Linked DNA regions of Homo sapiens: region 2 is linked to region 1. The links are contacts of gene promoters, found by promoter capture Hi-C in blood cells and fetal thymus (Javierre and others, 2016). All regions are on one chromosome and are shown on one strand. The core of a region is centred on a gene start or on the middle of the fragment in contact, and the rest is flanking DNA. Distances in the headings are between cores, read along the strand shown. Region 1 holds the start of S100P (S100 calcium binding protein P). Region 2 overlaps KIAA0232.

Evidence for each region. Contacts are between HindIII fragments. The CHiCAGO score rates a contact against its expected background, and 5 or more counts as called.
Region 2: a fragment that was not itself captured here is called in contact with the fragment with the promoter of S100P in region 1 in 8 of 17 cell types (naive CD8 T cells, total CD4 T cells, total CD8 T cells and 5 more); the score reaches 12.2 in naive CD8 T cells.

What each region holds. Positions count from the first base shown.
Region 1 is chr4:6,691,126-6,696,966 of GRCh38, reverse strand. S100P (S100 calcium binding protein P) reads right to left here and starts at 3,089. Exons shown (of 2, transcript NM_005980.3): 1 at 2,897-3,089; 2 at 1-74. The coding sequence starts at 3,034. RefSeq lists enhancers at 121-883, 2,086-2,821, 2,822-3,558, 3,868-4,405. The HindIII fragment of the contact is 13,149 bases long and covers 2,547-5,841 here.
Region 2 is chr4:6,876,624-6,881,833 of GRCh38, reverse strand. It overlaps KIAA0232, which reads right to left. Exons shown (of 10, transcript NM_014743.3): 9 at 5,077-5,174; 10 at 1-1,047. The coding sequence ends at 868. Among named protein-coding and RNA genes, the nearest start is that of TBC1D14, 31 kb to the left of the region's middle. The HindIII fragment of the contact is 7,029 bases long and covers 1-5,210 here.

The sequences.
Region 1 (5,841 bases), core at 1,840-4,339:
AAGTCCACCTGGGCATCTCCATTGGCGTCCAGGTCCTTGAGCAATTTATCCACGGCATCCTTGTCTTTTCCACTCTAGAGGAGAGAGAGGCTCAAGGTCAGCAGTGAGGGTGCCTGTGCAGGGCCTCAGCCTCCACCAAGCACTGCTGCTGGGCAGGAGCAGGGCACCCACATCTGCGTCACCTTTGCTGTCAGGGCCAGGGCCAGCTGTGCATAGCAGACACATGGCATTCCTGGCCTTAAGAACTTGTGAGCTGCCTTCAGCTATCTGGCATGACATGAACTAACTTGTAATGTTTTTAGAGCGAATTGGAATTGTGCTCTGCGAGAGGGAGTTTCATTTTGAGTTTTTGCCGGGGGTTGTCTTTGGATTTGTAAAGTGCTTTACAGTGATGGTTGTTCTCAGGAAATGCATCCAGTCTTTGCTCTATTTTTTGTGCACTGCTAACTTCATGGGCCTCCCATCTCGTGCTGGCACTGAACTAGCTGCTTACACAAACAGGAACTCCTCAACACCACCAGACACGGCAGAGGCATCGCCCTGTTACAGATGAAGATGATAAGGCCCAGAGGGCCCAAGGGACCTGCCCTGAAGTCACACAGGGAGCCGGGGAAAGCCAGGGTTGAGCCCCAGGTGTGGAGCGAGCATGGAGCAAGCACCCTGAGCCCTGTTCTTCCTCTCTGCTTGGGTCCCAAGCTCTCAGGTCTTCTTTGAGAAGGCCAGGCCGGCAGGGCTCTCAGAGCCTGCCCATGTGATAGCAAAGCGTTCTCACTGTGGGACCAAGCGGGACCAGGATGCAGATCTGAACAGCAGCAGCAGGGTGTGCTGATGACCCAGCCCTGGGCCAGAGAGCTGTGTGTCCAGGTGGAAAGAAACACAATTAAAATTGGTAGAAACATATCATCTGACCAAGACACAACTGTGTGCATGAAGACCTTAGTGACAGCATGGTTTGCAATAGCAAAAGTAAGGCAGGGAAGTACAAATTCAATAGCAAACAAATAGTGGTATGGCCATGTCACAATACCCTGCGGCCATTTCAAGTGATGTTTACAAAGTTTGTAGGCAGACAGTCACCTCGTATTTACAAAGCTCCGACTGTGCGGGGCGCTGGGTTGGGCACGGAGCAGATAGGGCCAGAAGGCCAGCCCAGCCCAGCCCTGCCCTCAGGCGGACATTGTTCTCTGACTCCGGCTTTGCTGGGCTTCAGCAGCCTCCGGAGGGAGGGCTGAGAAGGGCACCCAGGGCCTCCCCGAGGTGATTCTAATGTAACACATTAGCTGGACCCCCAGCTTTGCCATTGCTTCTCAAAGTGTGTTCCCAGGACACCTGTGCCTGCCCCTCCCCACACCCCAGTATCTTGGATCAAAGTCCTCATGGGTTCAATTCTCATACTTTGATCATTATCAGAACACCCCGAGCCCCAAGCCCAAGTTCCCAGGATGGGGCTGGGGTGTTTAATGAACATCAGAGTTTGAGAATTTATGTTGTAATGTTAAGCTCAAAAAGAAATTACATTGCATGTAAATCTCACTCACAGCAATGTTCATATGGGGAAAAGGCTGGAAGGGAGAGGAAGCGTCTGTATTCCAGGGGGGATTTCTTCCCTCCATATTTATCTATTTTTACATTTTCTACCAAAAACAGAACTTTATTTTTAAAAGATATCTTTACAGAATTCACATTTAGAAAATAGAACTAGGCCAGGTGTCGGGGCTCACGCCTGTAATCACAGCACTTTGAGATGTCGAGGCTGACGCATTGCCTGAGCACAGGAGTTTGAGACCAGCCTGGGCAACATGGTGAGACCTTGTCTCTAAAAAAAATACAAAAATTAACCGGGTATGGTGACATGCACCTGTAGTCCCAGCTACTCGGTAGGCTGAGGTGGGAGGATCACCTGAGCCCAGGGAGGTCGAGGCTGCAGTGAGCCGTGATCCTGCCACTGCACTCCAGCCTGGGTGACAGAGTGACATCTTGTCTCAAAAAAAAAAAAAAAGAAAAGAAAAGAAAATAGAAGCAATATTCTGAAGTGTTTCATGTCTTTGAAGTGATTCTAGGGCTGAAAATTTCAGGCTTTCATTTTTGATTATCAGCATCTATGTGGGTTAGCCCCTTAGCAGGTAGGCAGAGTCTGGTGGGGCCCGAAGGGGAGGGGAAGGAAGGAAGAAAGTGGGGGAGTGAGAAAGAAGGAGAGGACAGGGGTCAAAGGGAAGGGGAAATGGAGAGGGTACGGCTTCTGTTCAGCCCAGCCGGAGGCTGCCCCGGGCGGAAGGAAGCTGGTCCTGGCCGCCCTGAGGGGCCTTCTGTGAGGCTCAGGCCGGTGGCTCCTCCCTGGCAGGGAGCCCAAGGGAGGTCCACAGCTCTGCGCAGACAGGTGCCAGGATGGAGCCTCCTCCCGTCCTTCCTGCCAGACCCACTAATACCAGGCAACAAGGGGCCTGGGAATGGGAGCAGGGAAAGCGGGCAAGTGGGAGGCAGAGCTGGGGCGTTTATGGCCGGCAGCCTTGGAGGACAGCCCCGAGGGCTCAAGGGCTTGGCAAGCTTGGCAAACTTGCAAATGGCAGCCCTGGATTGCATTCCGCCCCTGCCCCCACTGCACAGGTTTGAGTCCCACTCTCCCACCAGGCCTGTCACAAATACACTGGGGTCAACCCCATGTTTCAAGGATCAAGCTGACCACACCCTCTCCCTGCTCAGATGCTCCCGCCTCCCCTGCCTTTATGCCAGGGTGGGTCCGTTCCTTGGCTGGGCTTCCAGGGCATTTCAGGATCTGTCCCTCTTGCCTCTGAGCCCCTTGACCGCCGACCCCACCGCAGCTCTCAGCCCTCTGCCTGCCACGCCTTCCCCTTCTTCCCCAGCCCCCGCTGAGTCCAGCACTGCCGGCCTGGCTCACCTGCAGGAAGCCTGGTAGCTCCTTCTCCATCAGCACCTTGAGCTCCCCCTTGGTCAGGGTCTGCGTGCTGCCCTCGCTGCCCGAATATCGGGAAAAGACGTCTATGATCATGCCCATGGCTGTCTCTAGTTCCGTCATGGTGCTAGATTCAGACCCACCTTCCTCCTGGGGGCTGGCAGGGCCGAGAAAATGTCCCACTGGCAGCCTCTTGGTGCTTTATAAGGCAGCCTCATATTGACACAGAGGGTGGGACAGTGGGGTTGGGACATTCAGGAAGTCCTGCCCCTCCCCATTCATGTGCTCAGTTCTGATGAAATGCATCGTTGTGATGACGTTTCTGGAACCTTTCCCCCAGCCAAGGCCCAGGGTGTGGGCTGCCTCCAGGCATCCACATTTTACAGTGTTCACCTGTGTCTCGGCGCCATCACTGAGCCACAGTGGCATCCTCATTCCTGGCCCTCCCTGGGTAAGTGGGCACGGGGTGAGTGTGTGTGGAGTGAGTGGTGACTCCGTGGCCCTTTGTGTCAATATCAGAGCGTGCTGGCACCCAGCGTGCTGACACGAGGAGACATCTGAGAGTGAATTCACATGGGCGTGTTTGTGAACATGGATCTGCCCCATCGTCCCTTTCTTAGAGCACTCTGTGTCCTTCAGAGGCCCAGCTTCCACGTCAATCTCGCTCGCTCCTCCCCTGTGGGGCCAAACAGAAAACTCCCCTTCATCCTCTGGGAGTTTGCTGAAAATCAACGGGCAGAAGGCAGATGAATAGGAGAAGAGCATAACAGATGTATTTGATCATAGCTTATGTGGCACGGCAGCCTTCAAGATGAAGATCCAAAGATCTGGTGGAAACTATCCATAAACACAGTTCAGCGAAGTATGGAAATATGATTGGATACAAAAGTAAGGCTGGATGCTCACAGACCAAGAGGAGAGCCTGGTAGGGCCTGTTGAGTCAGATTCCCTGGGGCCTCTCTGAGCAGCTCTCCTTCCTTCTAGGTGTGGGGCAGGACTCTTTCTGGAATGGAGCTCTTATGACCTACAGTCAAATAAAGCAGGCCAGAGGGTTTCTTTAGGCTGGTTTCTACACAGAAAGGGGAGGGAGTGGAGAACTGGAGTCATATTTCTGGGTTTTATGGCAGGGTTTGGGGAAGCCTCTCAGAGGAGGAGGAGCTGGAGACAGGAGGGTGGGAGCAGGACAGAGAAACTTTTGTTTCTGAGGCTTCCACGTTGGGGTGTTGTTTTTTGAGCCCCGGCACTTACCAAACCCAAATCACCCACAGGGCTTAGACGGCACAAAGGCTCCTGGGACTCTGGGCAGAGTCAGGGACAGTCACACCCCTCCCCGTCTCTATAGCGGAGGTACTCAGAGGGTCTGTGCTTGGGAGGCTGAGCGAGTCCTGGAGAGCATGGAGGTAGGGGCCTGTGTTCACATCCTGCCCCGGTCAAAGTAGGCCCACACTCAAAGGCCTCTCTCTCAGCAGAGATCTTCCAGAGTGTCAGCCTCCAGCAAGTTCCCTAACCTCTCCCAACACAGCCTCCACCAGCACATGGGCCGAGACTCTCCCCACGGGGCTGTGGCTCAACATAGAAAAACCTTGGTGCACGATGGCAGCAGCAGGTCTCACAAGAGCCGGCTTTCTCAGAACACACTGCCTCTGCCCAGGTGTCCTGCAGTGGAGGCTCAGACTGGCCCCACTGGTGACCCCTTGGGGAGCAGGGACAGGTCCATTCTGCTCACTCCTGAGCTGGGCAGTTCCCTCTTGGGATAAGGTCGCACAGCACAGGCCACCATCATACCACCCCAGCCAGAGAAGTGGGAGAGAGAAGGAGGCTCCCTACCCCAGAGGCAGTGCTCCTCAGGAAGGGCATTCACTGCGTTATATAGATATATATATACACACACACACACACACATATATATACACATATATACACATATATGTATACACACATATATACACACACACATATATACACACACACATATGTATATACACACACATATATATATAGATATACACACACATATATTTTTTGTTTGTTTGTTTGTTTGTTTGCGATGGAGTCTCACTCTGTTGCCCAGGCTGGAGTGCAGTGGTGTGATCTCGGCTCACTGCAACTTCCACTTCCCGGTTTCAAGTGATTCTCCAGCCTCAGCCTCCCGAGTAGCTGGGACTACAGGCATGTACCACCACACCAGGCTAATTTTTTGGGGGTTTCACCATGTTGGCCAGTCCGGTCATCACTTTGTTTTAAAATTTTTATTTATTTATTTATTTTTATTTATTTTTTGAGACGGAGTCTCGCTCTATCACCCAGGCTGGAGTGCAGTGGCACGATCTTGGCTCACTGCAACCCCTGCCTCCTGGTTCAAGTGATTCTCCTGCTTCAGCCTCCTGAGTAGCTGGGATTATAGGCATGCACCACCTTGTCTAGCTAATTTTTGTATTTTTAGTAAAGATGGGGTTTTACCATGTTGGCCAGGCTGGTCTTGAACTCCTAACCTCAAGTGATCTGCCCACCTCGGCCTCCCAAAGTGCTGGAATTACAGGCATGAGCCACCGTGCCTGGCCCCATTTATTTACTTTTAGAGACAGTGTCTTGCTTTCTCACCCAGGGTGGAGTGCAGTGGCTCAATCACAGCTCACTATAGCCTCCAACTCCTGGGCTTAAGTGATCCTCTCACCTCAGCCTCTCCAGTAGCTGGGACTACAGGGGCGCTCCACCATGCCCGACTATTCACTTTAATCTTTCACCGCTGTGGGAGGAAGGATCAGGACATCCATCGGGTGGAAACTGCTGCACTCCCCCACCCGTTCAGGCCACTGGAGTGTCACCAAACCACCAGGGCTGCCCCTGCTGGAGTAGCTCACCTGGGTAACTCTGAGGACAAGCCCCCTTGGAGACTCTTCTCAGGAGGGAGGTGGCATTTTCCAAGAAAG
Region 2 (5,210 bases), core at 703-3,202, 190 kb before region 1:
TTTGGGGGTTTCAATTCAACATAGGTCACCAGAAAGTAACAATCTGTAACTAAGGTCCTTAGCACGTATGGAACACTCACCACAAAGAACCCTGCATGGGGTTTTGGTGTAAATGTAACTGCAGTATGAGAGCAGGTAAGGGGTGGGGTATGCACCCTTACCCCACTGTGTCTCGCATACGACCCCACACCCCAAATCCTTGGCTTCTTCAGTTAGCAAGAAAGTCACGAACCATAGTATCTTCCGTGATACTTTAGGGGAAAAGAAATCCTAAGAGAGAAAACACAGTATTTGGTGAGTCTTGAAAAGCACACCTCTGCGGTTCCTACTGGAAATGTACATGAGATTTTGCTGAATGGAGACCACCGCTGAGTCACCCAGGCTTCCCTCTCGCCTTCAGAAAGGCATCAAGCCACTGTAGGGTAAGAATGGATATCCCAGTTCTTGGAGAACAAAGCCTAAATGCTCCAAAGCTGAAGTCTCTGAAGAGCAGAAGTGGTTGTTGACACTGCAATGCTAGTAAGGTCATAGTGATATAACCGCAGTCGGAAGGAAAATTAACTGCAGTTAAGATGCAAAAAGCAGTGATACTTCTAAGACAAGCACATGCACACCCATTCTTGATTTGACAACACAATCTAGTCTATTTCAAATAGCCAAGAATTTAACAGCTGGGAAAAAAAATCTTTAACAGGATAGCTGTCCTCAACTCTAAAATAAGCAAGAAGAGAAAGATAATTATTACCAATCTGAATCAGTTAATTGAAGAGGAAACCTAAGTTGTTGTTTTAGATTAACAGGTCTCACTGAAGAGTAATTTTCCATCACATATCATTTTTAAACAATAATTTGTACTATTTTGCAGGTTTAGAGATGAGTTCGAGAAAAGAGCTCCTCTTCACTAGGGCCCACCCACTCGCCTCCGCCTTCTGAGCCTGTCTCTTCCGAGGTGGAGCTGGCGCTGGAGCACATCTTTCCGCGGAAGCCATCTGACTTTGCTCCAGAATCTCTCTCTCCTGTACATCTTGCTTCATAAACAGAAGACACCTAAGATTAAAACAATTTTCAACACATCAAAAAGACTTTTTTTTCCCCAAAAGGGTGAGATACTCTATCTATATACAAAGAAGAAATAATAAATCATCAGTGTTTTCCTGTGGAGTTACAAACATGCAGAGTTTTACTGTTTCAGAGCAAAACCGCCTCTCTTCTCTGATCCATGAAGGATCCAAAATCCTAATTCCACATGTTCAGTCACTTGGACAAAATGTTAGCCATGTTAGGGTAGGATAAAGAATTATTTCATTTTCAAAGTCTTTGAGTACCTGCTATGCACCAGGAACTTTACTGGGCACAGGGACTCCAGCAGTGGAAGGCGCATGCCAGGCTCGCTGGGGAGATGAACGAGCAAACCAACATGTGCCAGTTGCAGTGACACAGTACCGATGGTGAGGGGGGCACTGCAGACGGGTGTGTTGGGAAGGGAGTTTGCAGTGACACAGTACAGATGGTGAGGCGACACTACAGACCTGTGTGTTGGGAAGGGAGTTTGCAGTGACACAGTACAGATGGTGAGGGGACACTGCAGACCTCTGTGTTGGGAAGGGAGTTTGCAGTGACACAGTACAGATGGTGAGGGGACACTGCAGACCTCTGTGTTGGGAAGGGAGTTTGCAGTGACACAGTACAGATGGTGAGGCGACACTACAGACCTGTGTGTTGGGAAGGGAGTTTGCAGTGACACAGTACAGATGGTGAGGGGACACTGCAGACCTCTGTGTTGGGAAGGGAGTTTGCAGTGACACAGTACAGATGGTGAGGCGACACTACAGACCTGTGTGTTGGGAAGGGAGTTTGCAGTGACACAGTACAGATGGTGAGGGGGCACTGCAGACGGGTGTGTTGGGAAGGGAGTTTGCAGTGACACAGTACAGATGGTGAGGGGACACTGCAGACCTGTGTGTTGGGAAGGGAGTTTGCAGTGACACAGTACAGATGGTGAGGGGGGGCACTGCAGATGGGTGTGTTGGGAAGGGAGTTCTTTGGAGAAGAGGCCCGCTCAGCTGAGAAGCCAGCCATGCAGAGGTGCCAACACTCTGTGGTGTCGGACTGTCTCCCCTACACCAGATGGTCAGCATCTCTGGACCCCAGGACATGAGATGCAGTGGTGGCCCCTCCTCAGTCACAGTCATTACAAAGCTCCCCTCACCCTGCCATAGTAACTAGCAGCACTCCCACCTCATTTCCAAATGGCAGCATTGCCCCTGGTTGAGAACCCCTGAGGCAGAAGCACAGAAAAGCCACACAGAGTAAGGGGAGAGCAGAGACAGATGAGGTCAAAGGCAGACGGGGGCAAAACATACAGGGCTGTAGAGGCGTGGCGGGGAGTTTGGATCTGTCTCAAATGCAACAGCAAAGTGACATCATGGTTAGCAGTATGGGTCCTAGAGGCAGACTGCTGAGGTTCAGAGTTCAGGTCCACACTGAAGCTGTGGCTCTCTGGCCTCGGATACACGGCGCCTGATGTTTTTGTGCTTCACTTTCCTATTTTGCAGAACAGGCATGACAACAGTACCTACCTCACAGGGTCGTTGTGAGGACTGAACAAGATACTGCTCGTGAGGTCATTCTGTCTGCTGTGTGGAGAGAAGGCTGGAAAGGATGACGAAAGCAGGAAGGACAATGAAAAGACCATGGCAGCTGTTCAGGAGCAGGGACAGTGGCTTGAACAAAGTGGTAATGATGGAGAGGAGGAGAAGTGGGAGATGCGAAGTGGCTGACAGCGGGGAACGGTCAGGACTGGCAGGCAGACTGTGTGTGGAAGATGAGAGAGAGGACTGGGGAATATGTCTCAGTTTGGGGTTTGAGGCTGGAGGGATGATGTGAACTAGTCACTGAGGAGAGAGCTGGTGGGGGCCTCAAACATCTGCCTTCATGTGTGGAGCCGGACAGGTCAGTGGGCAGCAGGACGTGGACGATGATGCTACAGGTGCTTGGGCAGACAGTTCTCACAGGACTTGAATGGACACTGACAGATGGTTAATACTGAGTGTCAACTTGATCACATGCCGTGTGATTCAAGTTAACGGGAAACTACAACAGCCCAGTCCAGACAGGATACAAATGGCTCAGACTCTTTAGGAATGAAGGTTTAGGTCACTCCACCGGGAAAAAACCACAACCTGCTGAGGTGCTTGCTGAAGGCAAAGGGAATACAGAATGGGTAGTAGAAGAAGGTAGTCATCAATACCAGCTACGACCATGTGACCAGGTGCAGAAACCAGGACTGTAATTGTCTTGAGGAGTATTTCCTCCTTCGTTAAAAACACGTTTGTGCATGTATACACTTGTACTAAGAAAATCTCATTTTATTTTTTGTCCTTTATCATGTGACACAAGATTTATGTATGTATATATTTATGTATGTATGTATGTATGTATGTATGTATGTATGAATGAATGATGGAGTTTTGCTCTGTCACCCAGGCTGGAGTGCAGTGGTGCGATCTCAGCTCACTGCAATCTCTACCTCCTGGGTTCAAGCAATTCTCCAGCTTCAGCCTCCCAAGTAGCTGGGATTACAGGGGTGCACCATCACGCCCGGCTAATTTTTGTATTTTTAGTAGAGATGGGGTTTCGCCATGTTGGCCAGGCTGGTCTTGAACTCCTGACCTCAGGTGATCTGCCCACCTTGGCCTTCCAAAATGATGGGATTACAAGCGTGAGCCACAGCGCCCGGCTGACATAAGATTTATTGACTTCATATCAGCATTTAAGTATTGTTAACTCTATGTAATAGTACTTGGGTTTGGGATTGGTGCTTTTCCGGTTGTATGAAGCATAGCTGTATTATGTTAGGTATAATTATGACCTTATTGTCTTTATTTGAAGATTACATATAATTTCAGGAGATGTGTATGGGTTCAAATTGACAAGGGGTGGACTTGTTATGGTTAATACTGAGTGTCAACTTGATTGGATTAAAGGATGCAAAGTACTGATCCTGGGTGTGTCTGTGGGGGTGTTGCCAAAGGAGATTAACATTTGATCCAGTGGGCTGGGAAAGGCAGACCCACCCTTCATCTGGGTGGGCACCATCTAGTCAGCTGCCAGCGTGGCTAGAATATAAAGCAGGCAGAAAAATGTGAAAAGACTAGACTGGCCTAGCCTCCCAGCCTACATCTTCTCCCATGCTGGATGCTTCCTGCCCTCGAACATCGGACTCCAAGTTCTTCAGTTTTGGGACTGGGACTGGGACTGGCTCTCCTTCCTCCTCAGCTTGCAGATGGCCTATTGTGGGACCTTGTGATCGTGTGAGTTAATACTTAATAAACTCCCCTTTGTGTATATATATACCTATTCCATTAGTTCTGTCCCTCTGGAGAACCCTAATACACTGACAATTCACACCAAATAAAAAGAATTTTCCTTAGGTTCATTTGCCTGCCTGCCTCTTAACCGGGGAAGGTCTAAGACGAGACTAAACCAGGCGGAGGCCCCGCTCCCGCCTTCGTGGTGCCCACAGGCTTGTGGAAGAGGCAGACATGCAGAAACGGAACGCAAGTACATGCTCTGGCTACAGCAAGAAGAGTCGTGCACAGAGTGCAGGAGGACACGGAAAGGGCGGGATCGTTCTGCAGAAGCCGGGACAGCGGCAACAAGCACACTGGCAAGGCTGCCTCAGGGTGCACTTTCAAAGAGGACAAGGCTAGGTCTCCCACTTATTAGGTAAACAAAAAAAAAAAAGATGAAAAGTGTGCCCACCCAAGGAGCAACAGGGTCAGCTCTGCATTTGTAATGCAATGCCCTCGGGCAGTAGTGTAGAGCCAAGACTGGGGAGAGAGCTGGGGATTCTTCAGGAAGCACTGGCAGTCAACAGTCAAGGGGGTTTGGAAGCGGGGGAGAATGCAGACTCAGAACAAAGGCCAGAGAACAGGAAGTCTGCACCCACAGGCCTGGCTGGTTCCTGGGAGAGGTGGGGTCCACTCACATGACTCCCAGGTTTTTGACTACAGTGACAACTGGAGGTGGTGGCTGTTTGTAAGTTAATGACGAGGAGGAGGACAGTCCACTTACCCTATTAAAATCTAACAGGCGCTCTTCATTACTGGGTGTCTCTTTAGCATCTGGATATTCTTCTAAACCACTCTCTCCCTTGGCATTTGTGTAACATTCTTAATCATTTGGAATGGAGAAGGGAAAAGAGGGAA